5 separate regions of the Homo sapiens genome follow, and regions 1, 3, 4 and 5 are each linked to region 2. Evidence: promoter capture Hi-C in human tissues and cell types (Jung and others, 2019). All regions are on one chromosome and are shown on one strand. The core of a region is centred on a gene start or on the middle of the fragment in contact, and the rest is flanking DNA. Distances in the headings are between cores, read along the strand shown.

The links. Contacts are between HindIII fragments. The study calls those that stand out against the background at their distance.
Region 1: a fragment that was not itself captured here is called in contact with the fragment with the promoter of SALL1 in region 2 in 3 of the 25 tissues and cell types used here (dorsolateral prefrontal cortex, pancreas and thymus).
Region 3: a contact is called between a fragment that was not itself captured here and the fragment with the promoter of SALL1 in region 2, in 2 of the 25 tissues and cell types used here (H1 embryonic stem cells and mesendoderm cells).
Region 4: a contact is called between a fragment that was not itself captured here and the fragment with the promoter of SALL1 in region 2, in 2 of the 25 tissues and cell types used here (H1 embryonic stem cells and mesendoderm cells).
Region 5: a contact is called between a fragment that was not itself captured here and the fragment with the promoter of SALL1 in region 2, in 2 of the 25 tissues and cell types used here (bladder and mesendoderm cells).

Annotation. Positions count from the first base shown.
Region 1 is chr16:51,289,152-51,291,938 of GRCh38, reverse strand. No RefSeq gene overlaps it. Among named protein-coding and RNA genes, the nearest start is that of SALL1, 140 kb to the right of the region's middle. RefSeq lists an enhancer at 589-1,099. The HindIII fragment of the contact is 5,467 bases long and covers 1-2,787 here.
Region 2 is chr16:51,149,979-51,152,678 of GRCh38, reverse strand. It overlaps SALL1 (spalt like transcription factor 1), which reads left to right and starts at 1,409. Exons shown (of 3, transcript NM_002968.3): 1 at 1,409-1,513. The coding sequence starts at 1,438. RefSeq lists an enhancer at 1,712-2,212. The HindIII fragment of the contact is 9,229 bases long and covers 1-2,700 here.
Region 3 is chr16:51,335,365-51,338,222 of GRCh38, reverse strand. No RefSeq gene overlaps it. Among named protein-coding and RNA genes, the nearest start is that of SALL1, 190 kb to the right of the region's middle. The HindIII fragment of the contact is 5,068 bases long and covers 1-2,858 here.
Region 4 is chr16:51,381,121-51,383,860 of GRCh38, reverse strand. No RefSeq gene overlaps it. Among named protein-coding and RNA genes, the nearest start is that of SALL1, 230 kb to the right of the region's middle. The HindIII fragment of the contact is 5,047 bases long and covers 1-2,740 here.
Region 5 is chr16:51,318,289-51,321,053 of GRCh38, reverse strand. It overlaps LOC107984886 (a long non-coding RNA gene), which reads right to left. Exons shown (of 4, transcript XR_001752175.1): 4 at 1,996-2,765. Among named protein-coding and RNA genes, the nearest start is that of SALL1, 170 kb to the right of the region's middle. The HindIII fragment of the contact is 4,498 bases long and covers 1-2,765 here.

The sequences.
Region 1 (2,787 bases), core at 83-2,582, 140 kb before region 2:
TTCAGAATTCATAGACCAAGAAGTAGAGTTGTGTGCATTGCATGTGGACATTTGAAATCAACTTGGAGAAACTAAAAATAGAAACAATCAAATATGGTTCCTCTGTGGAGTAGATAGAGTATAAAAGGTAGGGAAAAGGGATGCTTTTCTTTTCCACTTTACACCCATATTTCCCCCCTCAGATCCACCTTTGGAGAAGAAAAACGTTGCCCCAGCTGTTGGGCTACTGCCTACAGTACTAGACAGTCCTCAGCTATCAGCCTTCTTCAGATAGTGCCTCAGCTAAAGAAAGCTGCCTCGCCCAAGTCCCTTCCTTCTAGAGGTAGTCTACATAAGATATTTAGTCTAGAGCAGTGATGTAAAGTCCTGGTTTCCTCACTCAACTAAGGACCATTCTGAAGAGCCAGCCCAGCTTCAGAGGTCCCCATGGAATCACTGCATTACTGTGACAGCATCACAGCCCAGCCACTCCCTCAGCCCCAATTCTGCTTCCGCATTTTCCCTCACAGGCGTCGATCTCAAGAGTCTTCCTTTATAAACTTCCCACTTGATAATCTCTATCTCAGAGTCTGCTTCCTAAAGGACCCAATTTGGGATAGACCTGTTTTACACTAACTTTTTAAAAAAACCATTCCTAAATTAATTTTATAAATGTAAGCACAGAGCTATGTGCATGCTTTTATTGATTTGTTTTCTTCTAGAATAAAGGTTCATTTAAAATCTGAGGAAAGATAAACTTTATTTTGAGAAAAATGCTCTAAGAGGCTGTCTGCTTATGCAGAGTGGCACCAACTTTCCCCATCTATGATGCAGAGGTTGAAGGCACTGGTGAGCTAAGCTGCTTTGCATTGTAATAGAAAAGATTGCATTCTTGAAGCACAGCTGGCCTTGCATTCTCTCAGCGTACCTTAGCGGAGTATCTTTCAACTGCAGGGCTTGTTGGTGAGGGTATTTTGGTTTGTTTTATTTTTAACTGACACAAAATTGTACATATTTATGGGATACAAAGTGATATTCTAAACTCAATTGGGAAGGTCACACCCAAGGTCTCTTCTTAAAAGAATAAGGGTGTGTTGCTATTCTGTCCAAATAGAGGAACACATTCATATTGTCAGAAGCATCGCATGCCATGGGAAACTATGAGGCCTTGGTAATAACTTCCAGTGATTTCCCACGACATGAAAATCCAATTCAAACTCTTAATCAAGTCTTACCAGGCCCTAGGAGATCCTGCCTCCACCTATGTTTCTGCTTCATCTTATATCACCTCTCCCCCTATTCATGACTCTAGAGCCACACTGCCTCATTGCATCCTTGAAATCCACCATGCTGATTTCTGCCTCAGAACATTTGCATAAGCCATTGTCTTGCTTAAAATGCCTGAAATATTCTTCTCCTGAATCTTTGTTTAGCTGACTCTATCTTGTCAATTCAGGTGTCTGCTATAATGCTGCCTTGGCAAAGAGACCTTCCCTGACTATTCAATAGAAAGCAATGCCCTCTTCCTTCTCTATGGCATCACTCAGCTTTCGTTTCTCCAGAGCACTTAGCACCAACTGAGGTTATCTTATGTTTCTTTACTTGTTTAGTCTCTTCTCTCCTTGCTTCCCAGAAGGGAACCTTAGAGCAGGAACTTCCTTTGACATGGCCTTGCTGTTTTTACAGAATCTTCAGCAATGCTGGGCCTTACCTGTTGCTCAATAAATATTTATTGAATCAGCAAATATAAAGCTATATGAATTTAGTAGGTTTAGAAATCTCACCCCAAATTAGGAGGAAAGCCTTGTATTTTTAAAAAAATTAGAAAATAGGTTCATAATTCTGAAATACCCTAAGTGTTGTCAACTTAACTAAGTGGTGCTTGTGACACAAAATGCCTTGGAAACACTGATGAAGCTATTGTCCTTCTCCTCAGGAACAAAAAAATGTATATATATTTTCTTGTATATCCACTAAATATGATGCGTGCAATTTCAAGATTTCTTCCCCCAGGTTGAGAAGCCCTACTTTAAAGACTATGTGAAAACCATTTGTAAATGGCACCAAGTTAGCAGGCAAATGAGTGTTGCAGGAGTAACTGCATGTAATTTTCCCCTTCTATGGTCTACACCCATTTAAACAGCTCTGGCTAAATGGGAGCCACCTCATGGAGCAAGCAAAACAGGGTCAGGCAAGCAGAAGGCCTTAAGAGGTCATCTTCTCTAACCTCTTGCTGGGCATGACTGCTCGTCCAAACATCTCCAACGGGCTCAATGATCTTATCAATGGCCTCTTGGCCTCAGTTAACCTCTCTAAAGAGATAGTAGCCCCATCTAATATAATTTATCTTTAAACACATCAGTCTCCTGCATTTGACTATAAATTCATTGAAGACAGGTTTACCTAAGAGTCTCGAGTGCTGAGTTAGCACAAAACTTCAATGTTTGCAAAGCAGATACTAAGTACCAGGCATTGGGCTCAGAACCTTACACTAATAAACTATTTTAAATTTTAAAAACTTAATACTTTTCACAATCCTAAGAAATATAATCTATCATTTATTTGCCCATGTGTTTATTATTTTACTTTCTTTACTGGAATGTAGGTTTCTTTGGAATTGTCAGTTACAAGTGAATCCAGTAAATATAGCTGAATAAGTGAGTGAATGAATGAATGTATGAATGATGACTCCATGCAGAAGAGAACAAAAAGATAAGAAAGCTCTTTCACTCTTAAGTCAGACAAATAGTGAGCAAAGAAAAACTATAAATAAACAGGTAAATATTTTATTTCCAACTGTATTAAATG
Region 2 (2,700 bases), core at 160-2,659:
CTGGGGCGCGGCCCCCTCCCCAGGGCGGGGTGCCCAGGGGTCCCAGGGACTGGCCCAGTCCAGTGCCGGGTCCGCCCGGGCTGTGTCTCCCTAGGCCGGTGCTCGCTGCTGCGCTCAGTGTGAGCCGCAGCCCCTCCCCTCCCCCCGGCCGGAGCTGAACTCGGAGCCCAGGCCGGTCCCCGCTCTCCGCCCGCCCGGGGCTCTGCGGCGCCACCGCTGCCGCCGCCTCCCCGCGGAGTGACGCGCCCTGCAGCCAACCGGGGCAGCCGGGGGGGAGGTCCGGGAGGGGTCCTGGGCGGAGCCGGGCCGCCCCCTTATCCCACGGGCTCGGGGCTGCTTCTCCCGAAAACTTCAGCCCTAATTGTCCTGGGAATGTCCGAGGTAGAGAAAGGGAGCGAGGGAGCAAGCAAGAAGCTGGAGGATCAGTGCCCCTGGCGGGGAGGGGATGGGGTGGCGGGAGAACTGCCCCTCCCCCCAGCCACAAACCCATCAGGTTCCCAAACCTTTCCTGGATCCTCTTCTCCGCGCCCCCGCGAGCCCGGGATCCAGGGGATGGAGAACTCGGGGCGGAGGAGCGCCGAGCCAGGCGGGAGGGAGGCCGAGCCGTGGGCGGGAGGCGGACCGGCGTGGGGCTGGCTCTTCCCCACTCGCTTATTTTTTTTTTTAATGGGGGTGGGGGTGGGCTGCTTTCTGGTAGCTCTTAAAGAAACGAAGAAACACTCACGAAACGGGACGCCCTCCCCCCTGATCCCGCCGCGGGACTCCCTCCCCCCGCGGGCCGGCGCGCCTCGCCCCCGAGTTGGGAAGTTCGCAGCGCGCCGGCAGCCCGGGTCCCCAGCCCTCGCCGCCCGGCCCCACCCCCCACCCGGGGCGGCTCAATTCCGGGGAGGGCATGCTAATTTGGGTCGGCCCAGCCCGGGATTGTGGGGGGGGGCGAAGGAGGGAGGGAAGAGGGAGGGGAGAGGGAGAGAGCGGGGGGCGCCTGCCGGGGCGCCGGGCCCGCAGTGGAGAGGAGGCCGGCCCCCGGCGGCCGGGCCGCGGAGTCCCGGGCGGTCGCAAAGAGGGTTAACCCAGTGTCGGGCGGCGCGGCGCGCAGAGCCAGCCCCGCGGCCGGCTTATTGGGCCAGCGCGCGGAGAGACAGGGGTCTGCAGCAAATCACGAACTAATTGATTAAGGCGAGCGGGTTTGAATAGCGCTGGCCCGGTGCCAATCGCCTTTCAAAGAGCCCCTCTATGATTAATCGCAATGCATTATTGATAATCATAATTATAGCAGGACACATGCGCGCTGCGCCCGGGGCCGGGGAGCCGGGGAGGGGGCGGGCGGGCCGGCGGGCGGGGGGAGCCGCCGCCGCCGCCGCCGCTCGATTTCCGTAATTTTGAGAAGATTTTTTTTTAGTAATTTTTTATTCTGCCCCAGCTGATGTTTGAGCCAGCATGTCGCGGAGGAAGCAAGCGAAGCCTCAACATTTCCAATCCGACCCCGAAGTGGCCTCGCTCCCCCGGCGAGATGGTGAGTGCTCCGGCCCGCGCCGTGGACACACACACACGCACTCACACTCACGCACACTCGGACCCACTCACACGCGGCTGGCCCCCGCGCCCCCTACCTCACCGCCGCCGCGGCCCCGATTGCTTCTTCCACTCGGCGTAATTTTTTTTTTCTTTTTAATTTTCAATGTGCCTTTGCTGGGCTTTCCCCCGCTGCCCCGGGGAAAGCGAGCACATCTCCCGGCAGGATCTTTCCGGAGTTGTTGGGTCCTCCCGGGGGAAGGAGGGCGGGCATGCCGGCCTGGCTTCTCCGTCCCTGCTTTTCCGGGGATCCCAGCCGCGGCCAAGACCCGGGAGCCCCATGAGGCGTGGGTGCGGGTGGAGGTCGCCCCGGCCTGACCGCACGGGGCCCCTAGCGCTCCCGGCGCCGGCCCCAGGGCACCCGGCCCGGCCTCCGCCGCCCGGCCTTGCTGCCAGCGGTAAGGAAGTTTACTTCGGGCGCTGGGCTGAACTCCGAGCGTGGGGGAGTTCGCTGCGCCCCCCTGCCCCCACGCACACTCCCCCTCGGCCTGCGAGGCAGAACCGGGTGTCTTTGGAGGTTCAGAGCTGCAAGAAGATGGGGACTGGTGTCGGGGCGCCAGCGCCTGACCCGCTGGGGTTGCGGCCGGGGTGGAGAGTGCTGCTGGCCGCCAGTTGTTCCGGAGACGGTGCAAACGGACGGGGAAAGTGTCGGGGTCTGGCTCGCAAAATTTATCTCCGCATCTCTTCCCACAACACTTGCACCCTCTGCCCCCCAAAATCTTTCTGGTCGGTATGCGCCCTCTGCGGATCGTGGTGCTCCCTACTTCCAGGGGGGTCAGGGAAGAAGTCATAGAATAGTTTTCCAGGTTTGCGGGTGGCCAGCCAGAGTGGAATCCCCCCTGAAACAGGGGCACTTGTTTTCTCCGATGGAGGCGACAACTGTGGGTCCCGAAGGGGCTGAACAAGTCCAGAACAAAGTTTGTGTGTGGGGGCTATGGCAGAGAGTGGAAGAGATCCGGGCAGGGAGTTGGGGTACAAAGGGAGGACACCTGGAATCCCTCCTTGCTCCTAAAGGTGTTTCACGGTACCGGCCTCAAAGCTCCCAGGCCTAGCGCCCGAGGCGGTGTAGCGGCGCCCGGACTCGGGTCCCCGGGTCGTCCCGGCACGATGCTGGCCTCTCGGCTGTGG
Region 3 (2,858 bases), core at 323-2,822, 190 kb before region 2:
AACACATTTTATTTCTTTCTAGAGCAATGTTTCATGAATGACTGGGTTTCATTCTGACAACCCTGAGGTGGTTTGAATGGTGGCCCCGGAAATCTCTTATTTCCCAGAACCTATGAACGTGACCTTATTTGGAATAAAGAAATCTCTGCAGATGTAATAATGTTAAAGACCTTGAGATCTTTGGATTATCTAAATGGGCCTTAAATCCAATGACAAGTGTCCTTATGAGCGACACACAAAGGAGAGACACAGGCTACGTAAAGATCAAAGCAGTAACTGGAGTTAGGCAGCCAGGATGTCACCCACAAGCCAAGGGATGCCTGGAGCCGCCACCAGGGGCTAAAAAAGACAAAGGAATGTTCTCCTCTAGAGCCTTCAGAGGGAGTGTGGCCCTGCTAATGCCTTGACTTTGGACTTCTGGCCTCCAAAACAGTGAGATGATACATTTCTATTGTTTTAAGCCAGCAAGTTTGTAGTCATTTAAGGCAGCTCTAGCAGGCTTTAAATTATAATACAAATGCTTCAAGAAGGGCAGAGGAGGAATTCTAATACCTATGTGACCAGTGAGAAAAGCAAGATCCTGCTCTTATATAAGTTAATCAAAAAGTGTGGTCTACTTGGACCCAAAGATTTTTCAGTAGATTTGCATGCCCTAAATGTAGTCCCTGAAATTGTGAGAGATTAGGGAGGCTCATCAACAAGCCAGTGAACCACTCCTGTGAGCGGTTGACAGAAGAATGCAAGCTAAGGTGTAAGAGTATCTGAAATAGCCAGGGTACAGCATATGGTGAGAAATGTGACCCAAAGACCTTGAACTGCAGGCTGAGAAGCTTGCTCCTGGCCTGTTAAAACACCTGTTTGCCAAAGTTGATTCTTTGGATTAGCAGTCAACAGGATTCATTCATACTACAATAATTGAATTGTCAATCACTGGCCTTGCCAAGGACCGTCAGAAAACCTGTGGACTGAGCACAGCTAAGTTGATCAGACCAGCTGCGGTGACGCAGAACACCACCTTGATAGAATCTCAATATGGGGACAATTAAGGAAGGCATTGATGGGGCTTTAGGGCCAGGGTGAGTGATTTTAAGGGGGGGTCTTACAAGGTAGGAGAGCTATTGGCACAGGACAGAATTTCTAACAAGTGGTTTCGAATTAGCAGACAGAGTGAGGCAAGGGTCCTGAAGCAAACTTTGATGAGCAAGAAGTCAGTCATCAAAACTGATAAAAAGTAAGTGTTTTGGTTGATTCACAAGAGCAGGTATTTCCTGGAGCTAGCAGCTAAGTGATTTCTGCTTGATCCCGATATTGTCTAACATGGACTGAGAGAGGCATGCTGGCCTAAGCATGCTACAACTCACTACAACAAATATGTAGTGAGTTGAGGATTCACCATGTTACAGGCACTATTCTAGGTGCGTGTGCCTGTGCATGCGTGCACGTGCCTGTTAGTGCGTGCGTGTGTGTGTGTTCATCCTTAACTCCATAAAGCTTGAATTCCAATAGGAATGTGGGGAGGACAGAAACAGAATATTCAATATACACATGTGACAAACTGAATTTGAGAAAGTGCTAAGTTCCAAGGAGAAAGACAAAACAGGAAAAGAAAATGGAGATGGTGATGGGAAAAGAAGAGTGAACGATATTAAGTGTCGTGGGACCAATCGCCCTGTGGCCACCTAAGCTTGGAGAGTGTTTGGTGAAACAAAGTTAAATAGACTTCATCACCCCAGAACATCCAGGAGTCTTATGTTTTTCAGTGTTTCTTAAGAGTCTCCAAGAAGAGGATAAAGGATACTGCATTGTCTAAATGTATTTTGCTTCTGTAGCCTTCCTTCCACAGCACCTCACTAATGACCTTTTAATCATTGGGAAAATGTTTAAGGAAGACACCTGTAGGCAGAGGACCGCCATCAGGTGTGCAGAACCACTGGCTTGAAGGATCTGCAAGCCAGGAGGGAGGTGCTGGCATGACAGTCCAAGCCTCCGGCTGGGGTGGGATACAGGTGTGGAGAAGTGACAGAGGCTGAGGATGGGAGAGTGTGACAACCCATGAGCTTGTGCCAGAATATCGGGACCATTCTACCCAGGAGAGGTGGACACTTACCTCAGTTTTTCTCTGTGCTTTCTGTTCCTATCACAGAATTGGGTTTAATGTTTGTTGAAAGAATAAAGAGATATAATGGATTAGAGAAGAAAACTGGGTAGATGGCATCCAAACTTAATCAGTTTGTGGAAAACGATGGGGTTACCCATTTTTTTATTTGCTTTTTTTAAATTATTATACTTTAAGTTCTAGGGTACATGTGCACAATGTGCAGGTTTGTTACATATGTATACATGTGCCATGTTGGTGTGCTGCACCCATTAACTCATCATTTACATTCGGTATATCTCCTAATGCTATCCCTCCCCTCTCCACCAACCCCATGACAGGCCCCTGTGTGTGATGTTCCCCTTCCTGTGTCCATGTGTTCTCATTGTTCAATTCCCACCTATGAGTGAGAACATGCGGTGTTTGGTTTTTTGTCCTCGCGATAGTTTGCTGAGAATGATGGTTTCCAGCTTCATCCATGTCCCTACAAAGGACATGAACTCATCCTTTTTTATGGCTGCATAGTACTCCATGGTGTATATGTGCCACATTTTCTTAATCCAGTCTATCATTGCTGGACATTTGGGTTGGTTCCAAGTCTTTGTTATTGTGAGTAGTGTCACAATAAACATACATCTGCATGTGTCTTTATAGCAACAAGATTTATAATCCTTTGGGTATATACCCAGTAATGGGATGGCTGGGTCAAGTGGTATTTCCAGTTCTAGATCCTTGGGGAATCACCACACTGTCTTCCACAACG
Region 4 (2,740 bases), core at 216-2,715, 230 kb before region 2:
ATCACTTATATCAGATCAGCTTATTCACGTGTGATCCTCTGGACCAGGAGGTTGGCTGTGCTGGTTTGTTTAGCATTGTCACTTGATCCACTCCTACAGCCAGGAAAGGAAGTGATAGCCTCTAAGTTGTGAAGCTCCCAAACAAAACTTGGGCCCAGGCTCATCCCTAAATATGTGGGGATCCCAGGAAAGAATATAAATAGAAGCCCACCCTCCATATGTATGAAGATTTTTAAGTTATCAATCAAGCTAACAAACAGTTTAATAAAATATGTTCTACCTGCCCTGGGTTGCCAGATTAAAAAGACTTCCTAAATTTTTAGTTGCTTAATCTGGCAACCCCACTTCTACCTTGAAAAATGCCTTCATAGTTACAACACATTGAAGAATAAGGGTGAAGCTGCCTGTGAGTCCCTCTGATGTCACCCAGGAGAGCACAAAGAGAAGCAGGGAAGGGGTTCTCCTTGTTCGTGGGAATAATGTTTTGTTATGCCAAAACCTACCACATTCTTCCTATCTGGGAAGAAGATGTGTGTAATTTGTCTTTTATGTTACCTAAAAGCTTCCATCGCTGAGTTCTTCCTGCTCTCCACAGCACTGTCTTTCTCTGACTTCAACAGTGGGGCACCCTCAGATCTTCCTGGCATTCAGGCCCATCTGCATGTTGTTTTGAGGAAACATGACTGGAGAGGTGGAGAAGCATTTCCCTGGGGCCTGAACTGTATTAGCCACAGAAGCAGACTAGGTCATGCTGTGCCAGGGCTAAGCACCAGATCCACATGATAGAGGCAGCTATGTATTCTGTCATAAGTGTATTCTTATGCATATGTTTGTGATTTGTAGAACTCTCTCAAGCTGAGGGCACAGGCCAGAGGCCTTTTGTGTCAGGTCTAGGGACAGCACTGGGCTTTTTCATTCTAGACATACATACAGCAAGACCACGTTTCCTAACCTCTTTGGGCCATGTGATAGAGTTATGGCTAGTGAATGTTGGCTACTTCTTGCCCTGACCCATGAAAATCTTCCACAAAATTCTTTGCACTCTCTTTTTCCCCATTCACTGGATAAATGGAAAAGATTCTAAAACCCTAGTGGAGAATAGGATAACAGATGGAATAACTTCAATACCTGAATGACTGCCTGGAGCAGAGCCTCCCTTCAACTTCCACCTCCAATTGAATTTTACCCAAGCAAGAGATCTCTGTGATGTCAAGCTGCTGAGCTGTTGGTTTTTCTCTGTTAAGCAAATTGTACTACCTTAACTTGTGCAAGGGATGACGTGAAGAGGGATAGAGAGAATGTTTGCTGGTGTGGCAACTAATAAGCTAATGTCTACCATGATTACCTCCGAACAGCTCTTAGGCATATAGCAATAATAGTCAAGTGACACCTATTACCTACATTCCCAGCTGTGTCACCAGAGGTCTTTTCACATTACAAAATCCAGAACCATTTAACCTAGAGTCTGCATGGTTTATGTAATGTACCTAACACGGCACTCTGCTCATGTGACTTAGAGCATTGGCATGCAGAGAATTCAGGACCTGGAGTTGATTTTCCAATGCTTGGAGGTCATATTCTTATCAATGTGATTTTAAGCTATGAACTGAAAAATCAAAAACCAATCATGTAATATGTGGCTACAAAAATGTCAGTGTGGGCCCACAGTTAAGAGCTGGTAGGAAACACAGCCTGTTGTCAAAGACTCAACCAGGCAAGCAGCCTCTCTTTTTAAGGGCAAACACACAGAAGTTTTTGTCCATTTCCTCAGCCTCAATGAACTGTATTTGAAATCACCTCCAATGCACTATTGTTTGGAGTGAGGGTGTGGGGAGGTAAGAGTTTCCTCAAAAGTTCCTGAAGATGGAGTTTTAAAATGCATAGACTGAACTCAATGGTGGTGGGGATCATCAGGGGTGGGAGGGTTATGGAGCTTCTTTGACCAGAGGACAGTATCAAAGGAAGGCATAAAGCAGAATGGTAAACAATCTTGGGAAATCTGTAATAATTTAAAAAGAAACATGTAGGGTCAGGCATTTCAAAGAGAAGTATCAAAGTGTCAAATAAGAATAAATTTATAAAGCCAATACAGATTGATTGGTCCCACTTGTGGGGATTCCAATCTTCTTTAAATGCACTACCTTCTTTAAATGCAGTAAAGTCTTTTCCTGTGTTTGAGATCACGATGGCCACTCAGTGCACTACCATCCCCTAACACAGCATAGGGATTTAACATTGCCCAACAACCTGGAGTCAGGTCCTGCCAGGAGAGCCTGAAGTAAAAAGAGAGGCACAATTGCCAATTCTGTTTTAAATCAAGCTTGAGAGTCTTGATGTGTGTCTAAAACGTTCAGCAAAGAGTTAAACAAGAAACTATAAAATATGATAGAAACAATATGAGATCTAACATCTCAACAGTTGCCAAAACTAGCAAATAATCAAAATCTGACTACAAAACCTCTCCAGATCCATAATGGCACCAATACCAGCTTAAGAACAAAGCTGCCCAATATATTTTTTAAATCCCTCTCTTCTCCACTCATCTCCTGACCAAATGTTGGCAACGAATTGGCCTGCAGAATTTTGAGTTGTAAAAGGGTTCAGAGATTAACTGGAGCAGTAATTCTGAAATTGGGGGAGGAAAGGTACCACCCCCTGGGAGATGGGCACATATCAGAATCATGGAAGTGGATATTTAAGGGAATATTTAATGCTGTAATTGTATACTAGAGGCAGGAAA
Region 5 (2,765 bases), core at 250-2,749, 170 kb before region 2:
ACTCTTTTCTTCTCCCTCCTATTTTTAAGCTTAAACTCCTTCTAGAGTAATCTATTCCCACCACCAGCCCCCATGTCTTAGGGATGCTAAGTGACTTCTTCCTTTTTTACAACCTGCAATAAGTCACAAGGTGAATAAAGCCAAGGTTCAGGCCTAGACCTGGTTAGTAAAGTTCTTCCAGGCTCTGGAAGCTAAAATCCAGGCTCCCACTAAAACCTGGGGGCTGAGAGTCCAAGAAGGGTCATTTCTAGACCCCTCACACGTCTGTAATCCCAGCACTTTAGGAGGCTGGTGGATCACTTGAGGTCAGGAGTTTGAAACCAGCCTGACCACCATGGTGAAACCCCATCTATACTAAAAATACAAACATTAGCCTGGCGTGGTGGTACACGCCTGTAATCCCAGCTACTCAGGAGGCTGAGGCAGGAGATTCACTTGAACCCAGGAGGCGGAGGTTGCAGTGAGCTGAGATCACACCACTGCACTCTAGCCTGGGTGACAAAGTGAGACTGTGTCTCAAATAATAATAATAATAATAATTCAATACATTTGTAGCTAGGTCAAACAAGTGGATATCATTTTCCATTGCCAAAAAGTTGAGTCCCTCAAAGTACCAAGCCTGCAACCTAGAAAAAAAAGTGCTCATCTATCTTTTTCTCTTCCACTCAGCAAGAGCTCTAGGAGATCCTTGAGATAACAGGGCAATTAATCTCCTTTCAATAACTAATAGGAGTTAGTGGAAGTAGCTCTGATCAGAGAATGGGAAGGAATTGAAGCAGGCAGGATCCCAGTCTCTCCACCTCCATCAGGTGGAACAGCTCAGCGCTTGTCCACACTACACATTGAACTTCTACCTAAACTCAATTAAAGTGTTTCATTGATTAAAATATTTTAAAAAGTAAAATAATATAGAAAACCACTGAATTTGGCTTCCAGAGTAAATTTTCTGAGGAAAAAAAATTACTGTTGAGGGGGGGAAAATAGTGTTTCTAAGATTTGTCCAGACATTACATACGCAGGCACACACATACACAAAATGCCATCAACACAGAACATCGACATTTAAAAAAAAAATAGAGATGGGTTCTTGCTATGTTGCCTGGACTGGTCTCTTGAACTTTTGGGCTCAAGCGATCCCCTTGCCTCTGTCTCTCAAAGTGTTGGAATGACAGGTGTGAGCCACCATGCCCGGCCAGCATTACCTCTAGATTCAGATCATTCAATCATTTAATAGACCCTGAGGCAAGGCCAACTGAGGTATTATTTATAACCTACCTCATTAATCCTCATCCCCAAATACTTGATGTATACTTGCTTTAAATGTCACTGCCCCATAAGTAAAACTTTAGTTTTTATTAAGCAAAACCTTAAGAAAGTTAATTATTAATTAAAATTTAATATTTATTAATCAACATCTTATATTTAAGAAAAAATAAAAGCTAACTTGGGGGTCTTGTTAATAAATGGCAGATTCTCTGGCCTGCCCCACCTCCCCCAAGATTCTGTTTTAAAAGGTCTGAGGTGGGGACTTAGAGCCTGCCATTATAAGAAGCCTCCTAGCTTCTTATAATAGACAATACTGTAAGAAACACCACTTAGGCTGGAGCCTCTTGAGCTGGCAAGATGATTGTATATAAGTGATGGTTAAGGAATCGCTCCCAGTAGAAACTATCAGAAAAGTGGAAGAAGCAGGACAGGGAAGGGGAGGAACTTAAGCCAGGCTGTGACTTCAGGTAAAGTCCCAGCTTCAGTAAGACCCTGTAGGGGAAGCCCTCGGCCTGCATTCCTACTGGATCAAAGTGGCTCATTCTCGGCTCACTGCAAGCTCCGCCTCCTGGGTTAACGCCATTCTCTTGCCTCAGCCTCCCGAGTAGCTGGGACTACAGGCGCCCGCCACCACTCCCAGCTAATTATTTGTATTTTTAGTAGAGACGGGGTTTCACCATGTTAGCCAGGATGGTCTCCATCTCCTGACCTCGTGATCCGCCCACCTCGGCCTCCCTAAGTGCTGGGATTACAGGCGTGAGCCACCGCACCCGGCCAGGGCTCTGCATTTTGCGGGTAAAGAAGCACCACAACGTGAGGGAGGTCCTAATGGAAGTTGAAGATATATAGGTGTGAATAATTAATCAGAGGGGATCTGGGTGGATCAGGCAGGTAGAAGAAGGGGATGTGGTTGGAGTGGGCAGCAGAGGTACCATCACAAACTGCAGGCTATCAAGTGGGTTAGGCCTAGGAGGCCACAGTTTAACAGCACATTCAGTCTAAGAGGCTCCTTTGCTGAAAAATCAGTGCCAACAAACATGGAAAAACAAAAAAGCCCAAGGAAATATTTATGCAAGCTAGGTTGGATGAATAAATAATAAAGGAATATCCAAGATTAAAGTGTTGCTGTACTCATGCAGTGGTAATTTCATGTAAAGTCAAAGGTCCCTCAAATATGACACTGTGATTCTAAAGATTTTTCTATTCCATTGGCATTGCATCTTGCTGACACTCTTTGAAGGAAGCTTTATGGAATAATTTCCCATCTCACTGCCTCTTTCCACTATGGAGTGTTCAACCTGTTATCCTTGTCAACTTCATTCATCTCAGTCTTTCTCCTCTGCACCACTTTTATATTTCTACAATTCTGATGATCACACTTATCTCTCTTGCTCCTGGTACTGAACCATAAACATCTTGAGAGTTACGATCATGTTAACTTATCAATACACCTCGGGGACAACAGCAATGGTCTTCACAAACTCGGAGCAGATAATCGA